Linked DNA regions of Homo sapiens: region 2 is linked to region 1. Evidence: promoter capture Hi-C in 16 types of primary human blood cells and fetal thymus (Javierre and others, 2016). All regions are on one chromosome and are shown on one strand. Each heading gives the region's core, a stretch centred on a gene start or on the middle of the fragment in contact. The rest is flanking DNA. Distances are from core to core; before and after follow the strand shown. Region 1 holds the start of GIT2 (GIT ArfGAP 2). Region 2 overlaps TRAFD1 (TRAF-type zinc finger domain containing 1).

The links. The method cuts DNA at HindIII sites, captures the fragments that hold promoters and counts their contacts. A CHiCAGO score of 5 or more calls a contact.
Region 2: a contact is called between a fragment that was not itself captured here and the fragment with the promoter of GIT2 in region 1, in 1 of 17 cell types (monocytes). The highest score is 5.7, in monocytes.

The regions. Positions count from the first base shown.
Region 1 is chr12:109,995,038-109,997,737 of GRCh38, reverse strand. GIT2 (GIT ArfGAP 2) reads left to right here and starts at 1,370. Exons shown (of 20, transcript NM_057169.5): 1 at 1,370-1,565. The coding sequence starts at 1,514. RefSeq lists enhancers at 1,200-1,359, 2,050-2,099 and a silencer at 1,630-1,719. The HindIII fragment of the contact is 1,710 bases long and covers 995-2,700 here.
Region 2 is chr12:112,129,833-112,132,532 of GRCh38, reverse strand. It overlaps TRAFD1 (TRAF-type zinc finger domain containing 1), which reads right to left. Exons shown (of 12, transcript NM_006700.3): 2 at 1,964-2,022. The coding sequence starts at 2,010. Among named protein-coding and RNA genes, the nearest start is that of TRAFD1, 5.6 kb to the right of the region's middle. RefSeq lists an enhancer at 1,770-1,819. The HindIII fragment of the contact is 894 bases long and covers 961-1,854 here.

The DNA.
Region 1 (2,700 bases), core at 121-2,620:
TGGGAGCTACTATTTACTGAGGGGTTACTATCCAGCAGGTGTATCACATTTTTCCCATAATTTATTCCATCTGTCCTTAGCCAAAATGAATGTTTAACTTTGCTGGTCACATACAAGTTTTGTCGCATATTCTTCTTCCTCTTTTTCTTTATTTCCCTCTCTCTCTTCTTCATTTTCATCTCGCAACCCTTTAAAAATGTAAAAATCATTCTTAAGTAGCAAGCCATACAAAAACAAATCGTGGACTAGAAGTAAACAATGCATTATCTTAATTTTGAACATGAGATTAAAACTGAAGCCTAAGGAATCATCTAATATATTCTTTTTTGTTATTTTTGTTGTTGTTGTTGAAGTTGTTTTTGAGACAGTCTCGCTCTGTCCCCCAGGCTGGAGTGCAGTGACGCGATCTCTGCTCACTGCAACGTCCACCTCCCAGGCTCAAGCGATTCTCATGCCTCAGCCTCCTGAGTATCTAGGATTACAGGCATGCGCCACCACGCCCGGCTAATTTTTTTTTTTTTTTTTTTTTTTTTGAGACGGAGTCTCACTCTGTCGCCCATGCTGGAGTGCAATGGCGTGATCTCAGCTCACTGCAACCTCCACCCCCTGGGTTCAAGCTCCTGCCTCAGCCTCCCAAGTAACTGAGATTACAGGCTCCTGCCACTGTGCCCGGCTAATTTTTGTATTTTTAGTAGAGACGGGGTTTCACCATGTTGGCCAGGCTGGTCTTGAACTCCTGACCTCGTGATCCACCCGCCTCGGCCTCCCAAAGTGCTGGGATTACAGGCGTGAGCCACCGCGCCCGGCCAATTTTTGTATTTTTAGTAGAGATGGGGTTTCACCATGTTGCCCAGGCTGGTCTCGAACTCCTGCCTCAAGTGATCCTCCTGCCTCAGCCTTCCAAAGAGTTGAGATTACAAGAGTGAGCCACCACGCCCAGCCTGGAATCATATAATATATTCTTATTTTACTTTACCCCAGTAAAATGCAAGCTTCATAAGGACTAGAAATTCAGTCTTTGCTCACTGCTGTTTCTCCAGTGGCTGGGACAGTATATAAAGCATGGTAAGTGCTTGATAAACATTTGTTGAATCAAGGAATGAATGAATGAACTTGACCATTGATTGCCTCAGGAAGGTTGTGGCTGCAGGGTTCTCATCACAAGATATTGCTACTTCCCCTGGTATTAATCAGTTGGGACGAGGGGAATCTCTGCCAGAGAAGAAGACCCAAATTCAATATTTAAAGGTAGGACAGATGATACTCGGGCAGTCTCCTGCCCTCACTCAAGATGGCGACAAGGCAGAGTGCCCTTTCCGGTCACATGACCTGACACTCGCCGAAGGGCACCTCCCCGCGCGTGCGTGCTGTGCCAAGGCTGCAAGGCGCTGAGGGGAGAGGCGCCGCCGTCAGCGCCGCCGCAGCTGGGACCCGTTAGAGCGGAAGCGCCGCCGCCACCGCCGCCTTTGCTGTCCCCCGGCCTCTAGTTCCCCGCAGGTGGGAGGTGGGAGCCATGTCGAAACGGCTCCGGAGCAGCGAGGTGTGCGCTGACTGCAGCGGGCCGGGTGAGTCGCACCGGCCGGGCCCGCTCCCCTCTGCTTTCCTGGCCCGGACCCCTACCCCGGGGCCGCCCCCTCAGGTCAGGCTGCATCCCGCGGCTAGGGTCGCAACGAAGAGGTCCCTGGGCGGCCTTGGGGTGGGAACCGTCCCGGGCCTGTCAGAGCCGGGCGGGCAGGGGGCCGCCGCCCTCCCCGTCCCTCGCGGCCCTCCCTTCCCTCTCGTTCCCTCCCGTTCCCTCCGTCCTAGGCCAACTGGGGAGGTGACGGGGGCCAGGGCTGCTCCCCCAACAGGAAGGGGCTTGGGCAATCCACAGGAAAGCCAATTACAGAAGTAAAATGTGAGCGTCCTCCCGGCTGCAGCCTCCAGAGGCTGCAGGTGTCACCTCCCACTAGACCCTTTCTCCGCCTGGGTGTCCTGCCCGGGGAGGATGACACTCCCTGAGACTCGCCAGAGGGTCCCCGTAGATGACTTCCCCGCTGCTGACATCCGACAGCTACTCTGCCCGGGAGAATTGCCAGGAGATCGGGGTCTTCCAAACACAACCAGCACTTAGGAGGCAGTGCTTGTCTCAAGTTTGAGGATCTGAACGGCCTGGGTTCAAACTAGATTTTGCTTCTGGCTGACCTTGGGCTGGTGACTTCACTTGGTCACTTGCTTGATTTCCTCATTTTTTTCAATGAGGATAATCGGGAGTATCACGCTTAGTGGTGAGGAAGATTCAATGAATACTCGTAGAATCATATCATCTAAGGCTTTTCTTTTTTGCATTATGCTGTCTACAGTAGAACTCTTGTAGTCCCTTAAAGCTATATTTGACTATCTAAATCATACGTTGATTACAACGGAAACAAACGCAAAATCACCAGCAATATAGGGGCATTGAAACGCTAAAGCCATTCCTTCATAATGATGCATAACTGTTCATACATAATATTCACATTTAGAGATCAAGTGTGTCTTAGCAATTGCAACTGAATTGTCAGGTCTCTGGATAGATTATTACATGCTGTTTTAGGTGCTTGGATGTATTGGCTTTGAGTTAATTCGAAGGTAACATGGCTTTCTTGGCACAATAGTGTCCGATAAACAATCTTAATTAAATCATTGAACACCACTGGCTTTGCAACTGTTCTGATCTTA
Region 2 (2,700 bases), core at 158-2,657, 2.1 Mb before region 1:
TTTCTCTCAAATTTTTAGCTTTCTAAGGAAACTACTCATTTTGAATTAATTTAGTTAAAATAATACATCCCAACTTTTTAAAGATGTTGTGAAATGAATACTTTAATACATTACTGGTGGTAGTATAAACTGCCTAAAAACAGTCTGAAAATTCATTTCTAGGACCATAAAATTATATACTCTGTAACACAATAATCCTACTCTTGGGATTATGTATGAATATTTTCATTACAGTATCATAGAATGGTAAAAAATGAAAGTCATTAAAAATACCTAAGCAAGAAAGGAATAGCTAAGTTACATATAGTATACCAACAAAGTGAAAGAAGAAATGTTATATTGTGATTGTAAATCATGTATGTACAAATGCCATGAAAATTAAAGCCAGTAATTACTGCTTAGGGTGTAGAAAACCTGGGTTCCTTTTTCATAATATTGGCAATAATTTTTATTTTAATGGTAAATATGGAGACACTAAATGTCTAGCATTTACTTTACAAGGCTGTTCAGGATAACTTGTTGACATACTACATACACAAGGCCCCTAAAACTTTAGAATTAAAACAAAAAATATTAAGGACCACACCATCATAATATGAAGCAACAAGAATCAAAAGCAGCTGTCAAGTAAGACCACAAAGCATTTACTATTGCACATATTCACCTCTTAGGAAATGCTGAAATAAAAAAGATATTTGCAACAATTATATAAAACAGTTGCCTGCTGGGTTTTTTTCTTTTAAAATTTAACTGCCAACATATTCCTACCAAACATTCCAACCAGACCAAATACTAATATGCTTACTTCCTACCTTCGGAGAAAATGAAGATGTTTTAAGTGAGATAAATGAGCACACAATTCCGTATCCAGATAAAACTGCTAAAAGTCTCAAGGAAGGGCTAGCAAATTAGAGGTGAAATTTCATTTAGATAGAAATAGCTGAAAGGCAAACCAAAGCTTCCAGAAAAATTCCCAAGAACTTTCCAAACACTAAACACAAACAGCCAGAAATTAATTCTTTACAGGTTTAGTCAGCCTTCTATGCTAATCTGCTTTTTTCTTTAATTTCTTTGGCTTTGAATAGCATTGTTTTTCACTAGCTTTCCATTAACTCACCCTTTAACTCTCTTAGCATAGTTATTTATATTTTGTCCTAGGCTTGAGATTCCTCCTAATTGGAGTGGACTGATAAAATAGGTGTATCTTAACTAATGCTAAAAACCAATGTGTCTCTTTTCTTACAAAATCATGTTTTCTTTTGATTATTTGTTTCTGATTACTCTGTTTCAGTAGCTATACATATAAAACCCAAACAAAACTAAAATAGTTTATGAAATGGTAGAAAGTGATAGTGGCATAGCAGAAATACTCTACAATATGGCAAGACACCTACAATGAGATGAAATCTTAATTCCAAGCAGGTAAAGAATATTGTAACCAGCTGTTGCTCTAATTATATTCTAATTCTGCCAAAGTTAGGCTGAGAAGAAAGAAAAAGACAACGATGATGACAAAAATGTTATTTGGCTCAAATATTCCACCAATGAGTTAAACTATTTTCCTTATTCCACATCTCTTTCTACCACAGTTTGCTAAGGTAAACATAGCACATTGTGAAAGAAGTACCCAGTGAAGGAAAATAAAGTAATAAACATAGCAGACAGTTCTGCTTTGCTTTTTTTGTCAGCTTACAGTAACAGCACTTGTATAGCACCAAGATACCAAGATAAGTTCTTAGGAAAACCCCAACAGGAACCAGCTGATTATTAACTTTACAACCGGTTTCATTTCATCAGGAAAGAGATGCTCTTTCTTGTAATTCATGTGGGTTATAAACACCAAAATAGAAAGCTTAACTCAAGACTGTGCCAGTCTTCACTAACAGTTTTTAAATCAGGAAATGATAGTGATTAAGCTTGACTGTCCTCATTCCACTAACATTTCTTAGATTTAATGTCTTACCAGTTGTCACACAGTCGAGTTTCCTGGTCATCTAGAAATTCAGCCATCTTTAGCTCTTCCTGAAAACCACAAAGGAAGACATGAACTTTCTCTTTCATTTCTGCTTTAAAGATGACATGCAAAAAAACAAATAAAAAACTAGTATACAGAAACTGTCACCCAAACCTGCATGTTAAAGCATTTTATTCAATATCCAGTCCCTTGGGATTTTCTTATTTTAAAATTTTCAATTTAAAATAATTTTATTGGATAAGGGAGTTTTAAAAAATAAAAATAATAAAATAAAATACTTTTACTAGGCTGGGTACAGTGGCTCATGCCTGTAATCTCAGTACTTTGGGAGGCCGAGGCAGGCGGATCACTTGAGCCCAGGAGTTTAAGACCAACCTGGCCACAACATGGGGTAACGTCATGTCTACAAAAAATACAAAAAAAAAAAATTACCCAGGCATGGTGATGTGTGCCTGTAGTCCCAGCTACTCGAGAGGCCGAGGCAGGAGGAATGTGCAAGAGGAATGCTTAAGCCTAGGAGTTTAAGGCTGCAGAGAGCCATGATCATGCCACTGCACTCCAGCCTGGGTGACAGAGTGAGACCCTGTCTCAAAAATAATAATAATAATAACATCCTGGCCAGGCGCAGTGGCTCACACCTGTAATCCCAGGACTTAGGGAGGCCGAGGCAGGCAGATCACAAGGTCAGGAGATCGAGACCATCCTAGCCAACATGGTGAAACCCC